Linked DNA regions of Homo sapiens: all the other regions are linked to region 2. The links are contacts of gene promoters, found by promoter capture Hi-C in human tissues and cell types (Jung and others, 2019). All regions are on one chromosome and are shown on one strand. Each heading gives the region's core, a stretch centred on a gene start or on the middle of the fragment in contact. The rest is flanking DNA. Distances are from core to core; before and after follow the strand shown. Region 1 overlaps RAD18 (RAD18 E3 ubiquitin protein ligase). Region 2 holds the start of OXTR (oxytocin receptor). Region 3 overlaps SRGAP3 (SLIT-ROBO Rho GTPase activating protein 3). Region 4 overlaps RAD18 (RAD18 E3 ubiquitin protein ligase).

Region 1 (2,700 bases), core at 64-2,563, 190 kb after region 2:
AAAATCGCAATTTACTAACTCACAGGAACAAAACATACTTACAGTTATGTGAACACTGAGGTATTATCATTGCAATGTTGAAATACTCGAAGCAAATTCCACACCGCAGCAAATCATCTATTGTCTGAAATGCAAATATGCATATATACATATCAGAAAGACATCAAAATTGGAAGTCCTGTCACAAAACTTTTTCTCTATCCCCTAAAAAAAAAATCAAACTCTTTGTCAAATACACAAATTCAAAAGCTAACTCCAGATAAACTGCAAGGGATCTTGACAAATAAATAAAAACTTCTCTCATATGACTCTTATACATTCAGTCTCAGGTTGCCCAAATTGCTTTAGACAGCTAAAGATGATGGCACACCGATTCTTGTGCCATATTGTCATCCCTTCACATAAGGGCTACTGTACTTCTGTTCCACTTCTAATGCGCTTCCAGCTCTTACTCCAAGCCTCCTCCTCTTCAGACTCCAACACCTAGCCTATAGTCACTATTGGGTGAAAGGTGGCCATTGCCACCACACAAGTTAAGAATCAAATCAAAGAATGTTAAAGCCAAACTCCAGAAACTGTCTAGTCAAAAGAGGAAACTGGTATCAAAAGCAGGCACACAATAGTAGGCATCAGTCAAGCCAAGACCAAAATTCCTGTCTCCCGTCTGGCAGTCCAGTGCTTTCGGCATGGTACTACACATGCAGCCAAATGAGGAAGCCTGGAAAGAGCTGGGGCAGTGAAAGCAGAGGAAGGGAAAGTGGACAACTTGGAAAGAGAGATGTGTGCCAACCTGGAATGCAATCCAAACAGGAACGGAACTACTCTGGCAACCTAAAATCTTTCAAATTGTTTAAAATAAAATATTATTCCATTCAACAGAAATATTTTTTAAAAGGAGGAAGCTCTCGACGGGAGGATCGCTTGAGTCCAGGAGGCGTAGGTTGCAGTGAGCCCACATCGCACCACTATACTCCAGCCTGCATGACCGAGTGAAACTGTCTCAAAAAAAAAAAAAAAAAAGAGGAAGCTCTCCATCATACTGATATGAAAAGATTGCCAAGATAAGTGAAAAAAGGAAATAAGGTATAGACAGTACATATACTATGCTACGGTTTGTTTAAAAGGAAGAGGTGAGTAAGAATGTATTCTAATAGGCCTAGCATGGTGGCTCTGTAATCCTAGCACTTTGGGAGGCCAAGGCAGGAGAACTGCTTGAGTCCAGGAGTTTGAGACCAGCCTGGCAAAATAACAAAAATCCATGTCTATAAAAAATTTAAAAATTCGTTGGGAGTAGTGGCGCATGCCTGTAGTCCCAGCTACTCAGGAGGCTGAGGCGGAAGGATTGCTTTAGCCCAGGAGTTCAAGGCTGCAGTGAGCCGTGATTGCCACTGCATTCCAGTCTGGGCGACAGTGAGACCCTATCTCAAAAAAGAAAAAAAGGAAAAAAGAATGCATTCTATTTTCATTGTAAATGTAAATAATGAGAAGATAAACAAGAAGTCATAAATAATGATCAGGGCCAGGAACATGGTAAGAAGGAGACTTTTACTTTTTATTTTATGTGTATTTTGAACCATGTGAACCTATTACCTGAATTTTAAAAATGTAAACAAAAAAGGACTAATGTCGCTAATGGTCCATATGATGAAATATTATGCAGCCATTAAAAAACATGCTTTCAAAGAATAATTAATGCCCTAGGAAAATAAAAATCAGAAAACAAACCTATGCCAATAATACATAATAATAACAACTCTGTAGTTTAATCTTCATAGCAATCTTATGAAGTCCACAGCATCAGTATCCCAATTTTAAAAATAAAGTCTACAGAGTTCCTAAGTTGGCTGGATCAAACCCAAGAAGTTGACTCCACAGTGATCCCAAATTTTAAATGCACAAAAACCAAAGGAAAATAAGGTAAAATGTTAAACACTGGTTCTCTGGGTGGTAGAATTATGGATGGTTTTATTTTTCTCCTTTATCTTATTCTGAATTTTAATTTTTTTCTACCGTGTACACATATTACATTTACAATATGCCAAAAACAGTAAATTTTTGTTAAAGTAAAACCAGGGAAATAATAAAATGCCAAAATCTTCCATTATTGTGGATGGTAAGCTGTCACAGACACAAAAATCTAAAGGGTTATGTTCAAGATCAATTAAGAGCAGAGGCAGGCCCAGAAGCCAGAACCAGTCTATTATATCACACTTTCTTATCTATGCCATCCTCTTCTGGTGGAGGAATGATTCTGAAAGATCTGCAGAGCACAATTGTGGAAGTTGACACTACATCAGATGAGCCATTTCTGGTTCAAATTTCTTGTCATGTCACTCCAAGACAGTAACATGCATATCACATGCGCCTCAACCAACTAAACAAAAAATGATGCCTGAATAGAGAGTGGTCAGCAGACTCCCCAAAATTTCTTTAGTTTAGAGAGAGAGAAAGTGAAAGGGAGAAGTAGAAAATGGGTGGAAAAACGTAATAATTACAAAAATACTCTTAAGTTTTTGGGGTTACAGATCCCTTTGAAAAATGGATGACAACTATGGACTCTCTGCTCAGAAAAACATACATGCAAAAATTTTACAAATAACTTGAGACTCCAAAGTCTTTCTGTGAATCCTAAGTTAGCAACCATGGATTCTGAGTCAGACTTCTATTCAATAAAAGAAGTAACTTCAGTCAGATCTGCTT
Region 2 (2,700 bases), core at 1-2,500:
CCGCGTTTCTCTTCCGACGCGGGTAGGGCGTGCTTGTCCCATTCCCAGGAACCCAACTCATCTGAAACAACAGGGCACAACCGCCGGCCTCGGGTTGCTCAGCCGCCACCCCAGAAATCCCCGTTGGAGGTACCTCCTCTGAGCCACTGCAAATGAGCGGGAATCCTCTACCGGCCACAAGCCCAGAGCCCCCAGCGTGCCAGTTCCTCGGGATGTTCAGCGGCTTCCACTGGGGGAGAAGGGAGGGTCAAAATCAGCAACGTTCCTCCGGGAGTGGGAATCTAAAACCAAATCACCTCCCCGAGGGAATCTCCAAACTACCTACTCGCCCCAGGCTCCGACCCTCAGCATATCCACCTGCCGCGGGACCCCCAAACCAGCCCCTCTCCTAGTAAACATTAATTCAAGTACTTCCTCCGGAAATCCCCAAATAGCCACTTGCCTGGGAAACCCCAGCTCTGGTCCTTCCCCGTCTAACCCCCTTTTCTAAGACGGTCGGCCGTCACTCCCTGAACTTCCACAGCACCTGCTTCGGTGGAAACCCGGTTCTGCAGTCCCTGCTGGGGGAACCCCTGCCTCAAAGCCCAAGATGCCCAAGCGCTGTTCCCAGACCCTGGCATAGACACCTCCCGCGGGGCTCCTCCCCAGCCCGGCAGCCTCGAAAGTTCTGGAACCCCTGACTTGCGCTTTGGACCCAGATAATCAAGGACTCTGAGTCTCAATCCCGAGAAGTCACTTTACAATCTCTCGGAACACCCCGAGCTCCTCCAGGAACAAGGAGTGCGAGGCACCCCACCACCTCCACTCGGGTCCCGATGGCTCCACCGGCCCTAGCCATCCCGTCCACCCCTGCTTAGCACCCAGCTACCTGCACCGAGTCCGCAGGCGAACCTAAAGTTGACTCCCCCCGGGGAAGTTGCACGGCGACTGACGGCCCCAGTGACGCGTGCGCTCCCGGCCCGAGTTGGGATGGCCTGCCGGCTGCACCTAATGTGATGCTAAGCTGAGGTCTCTCACTGGAGCCTCGGTTGGAATCCCCTCGCCGCAGCCTGGCTGGTCGCTGGATGGGTACAGGAGGCGAGCGAGGAGCGCCTCCCAGGCTGCGCGCGCGGACAGCGTCTGGATGCGGCGCTGTGCGCTGGGGCTGAGGCTGCACTATCGCACGGGTCCGCTAGGGGGCGGGCGAGGCCAGCCGCGCAGACCCCTCCGGAGCGGAGCTGGTTCGCCCAGCGTTGGTCCCAGAGCCTTAACAAATGGGTTTATTTTGCAGTGGTTTAAAACTGCGAGAGGGAGGGAACTCGTCAATAACCCGCCCGTTTCTTCCTTTCTTGGTTTAGAAGCTCTTGACTCCGAGACACATAGGAGGCTTGAATAATAATGTTCTTCCCCGGGTAGATAGTGATGAAGTTACAAAAGCATTTAAACTGATTATTTCCCAAAAATGATGTTAATTTTCAGGCTTTTCTCTCCCCCCACACCTCCAGCTTGATGTAGCGGCTTTAGCAGTGAACTCAAATAAGTCTTTGCTTTGGAATACTTTTGTTCCTATTCCCGTTAATGAGGAATTAGAAATGGCCTCTATTCTAAGCAGTGCTGGGAGAGGCGTTATTTTTTCGGTAGTTTTAGAGGAAATTCTGAAGCACAACACTGTCTTCATTTAAAGTGATTCTGCTTGTCTGCGCCCAAGAGCCGTTTCTGCCTCCTTGTCGCGCTTCGGAATTAAAATTCTAAATGATGCCAAAGGAAGATAAAATGTTAAAGACAGCTTCTCAGCCTCCCTGCCCCTTCTCTATTCTAAAATCATTTTTTGAAGTAATTTACAGTGGCCAAGAATTAAGTCAGAAAAAAAGGCCAGGATTCAAAAATAAACAGGGCTCTTTAAAATGCATTAAATGTGTATTTCCTCCTGACATTTCACTTCTCCGTCTTTTTATTATGTGGAGAGACTTGAGTTAGCCAAGGACTGGGTTTCCTTAATCCACAATTACAGCCCCATGCCGAGATATCCCAGGGGCCAACCTTACAGCACCTGGATCCCAGGGTTCTAGCTGAGTAATCATTCCAGAATGGGGCTGGGAATCTTGACAGCATTGCCAAGGGGTGGCAGGCAGTATTAATCAATATTAGTCAATAGTACCTATCGGCCTCGAAAATTACAGATTAAAGTTACAGACGACTCAGGTGAGAATGAAGTGACCTTGGGCAAGCCCCTTCTCTTTGGGCCTCAGTCTCCTCATATGTAAAATGAGAGCACTGGTCAAGATAGCTAATGTCTGAGGTCCTGTCCCTCTGGTTTTCTGAAACTGTATAATCTGTGCAATCTGAGGGTTCAATCCTAGCAGGTAAAACACCCCTGCCTCACTCCACGGCTGGATGAAGGCAGATTTTTCCCTATGAGCCCCTGACCGGTGAATGTGAGAAGGAAAACACTGGCCTGTAGAACCAAGCCTGCCCTTCTTTCTCCTGGAAGACAGCTGCTTTCTAGGGAGCAAGTTTACTGAGCCACTTCACCAAGGACAGACTCTTCTACCCTTTGTAGGGAAGCCTGCCTACCTGTGTGGTCCTCGCGTAGCCCGTGAGACAGCCTAATTCTGGATTCACCTAACAGGGCTATTTAGTCTCATGCAAAAGGTAAATTCTCTAACTTAGTTTTAATCTAAACAACAACAATAACAACAACAGTAATAGTGTGATCCCCAT
Region 3 (2,700 bases), core at 61-2,560, 210 kb after region 2:
AAATTCTCTTTTGCTTAGGGCTGTTTGGGTTGAATAGTTTGTCGTTTGCAAACAAAAAATTCCTAAACAGATGTGCAATGGACAATCCAGCAATGGTCTATGCTTTGTGGCTGACAAAATAGTCAAGTTGCTAAAATCTGCCCTTTGTGCCTCTGTGGGTTAGAGACACTGTTCTATTTATCATTGAGTAAAAGTCGATCTTAGAATTCTAGAGTGATCATTTTGTGCAATTAGACTGTATGCAACTTGAGGAAAGGAACTGGGGCTCATCATTCTGTGTCCCCAGCAGCTAACTTGAGGCAAGTTGCATAAAAAGGTGCTAAGGTGCTTCATACACGCTTGTTGAATGAATGAGAGGCTCCTGATTTGAAGCTTTCAAATGTGTACTGTTGCTATGAGCAAGTAAACAGATTATGGAACACATACAAAGTTTAGCCTCTTAGAAGGTTAGTAGTTTGAATGTGTCCCCCAAATTTATGTGTTGGAAACTTAATACCCAATGCAATAATCTTGGGAGAGGGCACCTAATAAGAGGTGACTGGTTCATGAGGGCTCCACCCTCATGAATCAATTAATGTCATTGCCATGGGCATGGGATTGTTATCATGACAGAAGGTTATAAAAGAGTCTGCCCCTCACACTGTCTCTTTTGCCCTTCTGCCTTCCACCATGAGATGGCCCTAGCCAGATGCTAGTGTCATGTTCTTGGACTTTCCAGCCTCCAGAACCATGAGCCAAATAAGCTGTTTTTCTTTATGAATTACCCAGTCTGTTCTATTCTGTTACAGCAACAGAAAATAGACTAAGACATTTTCATAGCAGAGGAGTCTGGAATTCGCAAGAGACCATCATTGAGTGATGAGCATTTTTGGTGGGAATGAGTCACTGAGGCTGCAAGGAGGCCCTTCCATGAAGATCCAGCAGAGGTTTAATCAGAAAGAGAGACTGAAAATCATCACCATTTATTATTTTTCATGGGCAGCCCCACAATCTCCTTTGGGCAACTTGTATTCTTCCCTGATACAAAGTCTTGGTGGGATATAAAGGCCCTGGAGTATTTCTTGACTGCAGCAAGCAGCAAGCTACCTTCATCATGAAATCCTGCCCCTAATCCTGCTGTAATGAGTACAATGCTCAAATCAGAGGCAGTATGACAAACTTATAAAGAGCATGGGTTTGGAGTTAGGCGGACTGAATTCAAATTCTGGCTTCTCTACTTCCTAGCCTAACCTTGGGCAAGCTGTTTAGCCTCTCAGAGCCTCAGTTTCCTCATCTGCAGGACAGAGTATAATAATGATACTTACCTTCAATGGTGTATTGAGAATTAAATGAGAAAATACAGGTAAAGGGTTTAATCTAGTGGCTGGGACAGAAATAAGTGGTCAATAAACAGTTCACAAACACACACAGGTAAAAACAAAAGTCCAAGAGGTTATATGACGTTTGTAGACAATGAACATCAAAATGTTGCATGTGCCTTGATGTATCAGTACCCAGTGGCCTCTGATAATTTATCTTAAACTTTTGAAGACACTTTCTGCAGATGACAGCTACTACTCCCAACTTGCCTTTGCTTTGACATTTCCAAACCCTCTTTCCCCAGCAGTCATCCTACAGTTAGTTACCTTCTTCAGTTAGCTCTACAATGGAAGTGGTCCTCCTTGTAACCTTACCTTCATCTTGTTGGATCTGAGCTAATGGACATTTCAAAGGTGTTTCCTGGGGGAAGCAGGCAGACAGTGTGGACTGGAGGATGGGGACTCCCCCCAGGACCTCTCCACCCCTGATGTGCCACCTCGCCCTTTCAAAAACCACTGGAGCATGTTTGAGAAAAGTTAAGCTGTTTTATTTCACAGGATAGCTCCACGTCAAACCAGCAGGCACCATCAGAATACGCGACAGAGGATCCAATCAGACACTCTATAGGACGGGCGTTTGGTCGTAAGGTAGAGAAACGATATCCAGAAGAGGGCAACATTTATCATCACGTGGGGACAGGCAACCAGCAATTTCCTAGGGTGGTTTTGGTCTGTTTTTCCTGTCACAATTTGGGGAGGAAGGAAACCAAAGGAAACAAAATAGACCAGCCACTCTGAAGCAATCAGAATCAAACCTATTGCCAAACCATGTAAACAGTCACACTGCCGGGAACAAGGGCCTGGGCAGAAACCCTAGCCAGGATCTACTTCCGTCTAAGGAAGGAAAAGTGCACTCTGGTTGTTCTGGTTCAAGGAACAGCTTTGTTATTGGCCGGGGACAACTCACACAGAAAGGAGGTGTCAACAAGGGGCAGCGATGGCCATGTGGCCAGTCCCAGAGGGACAGCAGGACACTGGCAGATCAATCTCAGGGAGGTCAGGAGGGCTTGGACCTGACAGCAAAGTCCCTTCTCTCGGCTCCCCTGGGCAGCTTTGGATATGTGGGGAATGTTCTATGTGGCTGCTCAGAGGAGAGGAGACCCCAGAGAACCGGGGAAGTTGACATGAAATGTCAGCATTAGCTCTGCACAGCAGAAAATCAGCTAGGCAACACCTCGGCTCACCCCTTTCTGCCTTTCCTCCTGGCCGCCACCCCGACTCCCAGCCCAGCAGGGGCTAACCCCATGGTTGTGAGCCAGCCACTCTTCTTTCTGGGTTTCTCAGGAGAGTGAGGCATTTGCACTAGTGTGGAACCATCTGGATGTGTGAAAAGTTAGGAATA
Region 4 (2,700 bases), core at 9-2,508, 140 kb after region 2:
GACTTTTGTTGTTCAGTCCATAATCCAAGACTCCTCTAGGGTCCTTTTCCTACTCTAGCAAGGCACAGGCAATCACACCTACATCCAGCGCAGGTGTGCTTCATCCTCCCTCCCACAATACATCACTACAGAACCTGGCCCTTCAGAGTTTAAGAAATGAAGAGAGAAAAAAATTATCTTACCTCAATTAAAACATACCATGCCTGGGAATACTGATTCAATGAACATCTATTAACTATCTACTGTTCGTCAGGCACTTAAATTTAAACTAAAATCCAACCACCACACAAAGAGTAACAGCTATCTGACAAAACAGTAATGTGTTAGCCCTGGGAAAGATATACACGAAGACCATTTAAGGAAAAGGAAGTGATAAAGTTGGGAGGTTGCTAACAAGCAATAAAATGAAAACTATTTTTGGCACAAATTTGCAAGCTATAGAAGCATTGAAATCCTATACAGAAGTATTGTTACTGAGTGGCCTGAGGACAGGATAGAGTCCCGAATGTTTCCATTTTAATCCCAGCTTCTTTTCACAGAAATGCTTTGAGAGCAGCTAATTAATATTTGCAAAGTGCTTAGTGATAAGCTCAAAGTAGAATGCTAGTCATAAAAATCAAAAAGCAGGCATATAAAATACAAAAAAAGTCACTAAGTAAACACCCAATTAAAATTCAATCTCTTAAGTAATGTTAACAAAAGTTTGAATTGAACCTTAATATAAAACATTATTCTGAAAAATTACTTAAGATGAAAAACAGCAACTGAAGCTCTTTACAAATTAAATAAAGTCGTGCAACTTACGATATTTACTGTGGATTTCATCTATTTCCTTTTCTGTTTGGTCCTTTGTAAAAACCATTACCTAAAATAATCAAAAAAAGACCTTAATAAAAATCTCCCCAAAATGACAAAAAGGGAAATATTACAAACCTTCAAATCTCAAATGTGAGTGTTTAAAATAGAGGAAAATGATCTCTCATCTGTTTTATATAGACCTAGGAAGAATCATTCCTATGTACTTCCCTTAAATACCAGAAATGGTATACATTTTACTCATTATTTTTTCTCATCAGTAGAAAATGCAACATGATTCAATTATATATTAACAAAATAATAAATTTTCTATTTTCAATATTTAATATCCCACATTCATTAATACAACAGGCAATATTTGAAACCAGAAGACTAACGACACTTAGCTGACTATTAGTAAGGCTGATCTTCTTGTCTGCCTTCTCTCCTTTCCAATCTAACTTCTCCAGGTCATTATAGAAAAGCAGTATGTATAGAAAATGCAATAATACAAAACACAGTAAGTTAAGCCTCTAGGTCCACTTTTTAAACCTCAGACTTAAAAGATCAGAAATCTGCTTCCATGATTCACTGCAGTTCCCATCTTACAGTTAGCACACAGGTAATAATAGGGTCAATGTAAATCCCATTTTTTTCCTACTTATTTGGTTACAAACTTACTTTCTTAAGGTAACCATTGCTTTCTCCTTACAAACACACTACAAATGGCCTAGAAAAAAAAAAAGTCTACTTGGAAGAGACCAAAACACTTTCTCCAGTGTCACAGGACACAATGACTATTTTCTTCACTGGTATCCTGTCTTCAAGTTTGGGGCATCAAGCTAGTGGAAGGCAACAGTGAAGAATTTTAGGTCTCTGATTCCCTCCAAAGCTCAAGAGAATATTCCATCCTCAAATTACTTAATTTATCCTCTTATAATTACTTAACATTTCCATAAGTATAATCATAGAATTGCAGAATGCCAGAGCTAAAAAGGGATCATAGAGGTCCCTAGCAGTAGCTTAGAGGTCCTTAGAGGTAGCTTATCAAACACAACCAGCAGAGAAAGGACCAATATCAAAGCTGCCTGATGCACAGGCACAGGCATTTTCTATAGAACTCTAGCTCATGAACAAACTCTACTTTGGATTGCATTTTGTGCTAGAAGACTGCTAAGTACAATCAAATATTGTCCTAAAATGAGTTGCAAGTAAATCATAATACACTAAGTGGAAATGTGTTAGTAAATGAATAAATTTAATAATGGCTTGCTTTAATTTTTGTAGGGTATTAAACTTTCTTCATTTCTATCCATATACTGAAATAGCCCATTAACATACACTTTCATTGAGTTTACTAGCTTCAAGACGCATCCTAGTCTTCTCTATATTTTCGATTTCTCGAACTATTTCAGCAGCTGTTAAAATAAGAAAATAACCACTAGGTTAATCACATGTCTTTTTTAATCACTGTACAATAATTATTTAAGTTGTTAACATTAGAAGAAGATGGGTGATGGGTATATGTGAACTCCCTGATCTATTTTTACAATTTTTCTGTGAATCAATTACCATTTCAAAACAAAAGGTTAAAAAAATAACATGGAGTTAAAACACTGAACTCTTACACATGCACATGCTGTTCAACGTATAACCACAAGAGTCAAGTCATTTTGCTTTCTCCTTTGAATATACAGGTCTAAACAGAAGTCTCAGTGAAATATGAAAATTAATTTTTTAGTGTGAGTTCAATTATTAGGGGATGTCTGCTCAAATTCCAATGTACTAAATGCAGTACAACAGGCTACTGTTCAAGGAGAGAAAAAGGTCTACAAATACCAGGAAAAATGTCCTTGCCTCCAGAACCTTTGTCTGTAGGTATGTTACCAATCCAATTACATACAT

The links. Contacts are between HindIII fragments. The study calls those that stand out against the background at their distance.
Region 1: a contact is called between a fragment that was not itself captured here and the fragment with the promoter of OXTR in region 2, in 1 of the 25 tissues and cell types used here (thymus).
Region 3: a contact is called between a fragment that was not itself captured here and the fragment with the promoter of OXTR in region 2, in 1 of the 25 tissues and cell types used here (mesenchymal stem cells).
Region 4: a contact is called between a fragment that was not itself captured here and the fragment with the promoter of OXTR in region 2, in 2 of the 25 tissues and cell types used here (IMR-90 fibroblasts and mesenchymal stem cells).

The regions. Positions count from the first base shown.
Region 1 is chr3:8,958,878-8,961,577 of GRCh38, forward strand. It overlaps RAD18 (RAD18 E3 ubiquitin protein ligase), which reads right to left. Exons shown (of 13, transcript NM_020165.4): 2 at 43-124. Among named protein-coding and RNA genes, the nearest start is that of RAD18, 3.2 kb to the right of the region's middle. The HindIII fragment of the contact is 4,574 bases long and covers 1-2,700 here.
Region 2 is chr3:8,768,363-8,771,062 of GRCh38, forward strand. OXTR (oxytocin receptor) reads right to left here and starts at 1,251. Exons shown (of 4, transcript NM_000916.4): 1 at 869-1,251; 2 at 134-229. RefSeq lists enhancers at 47-718, 1,366-1,415. The HindIII fragment of the contact is 11,538 bases long and covers 1-2,700 here.
Region 3 is chr3:8,978,767-8,981,466 of GRCh38, forward strand. It overlaps SRGAP3 (SLIT-ROBO Rho GTPase activating protein 3), which reads right to left. Exons shown (of 22, transcript NM_014850.4): 22 at 1,825-2,700. Among named protein-coding and RNA genes, the nearest start is that of RAD18, 17 kb to the left of the region's middle. The HindIII fragment of the contact is 6,143 bases long and covers 1-2,700 here.
Region 4 is chr3:8,911,508-8,914,207 of GRCh38, forward strand. It overlaps RAD18 (RAD18 E3 ubiquitin protein ligase), which reads right to left. Exons shown (of 13, transcript NM_020165.4): 8 at 2,137-2,213; 9 at 805-865. Among named protein-coding and RNA genes, the nearest start is that of RAD18, 51 kb to the right of the region's middle. The HindIII fragment of the contact is 9,414 bases long and covers 1-2,700 here.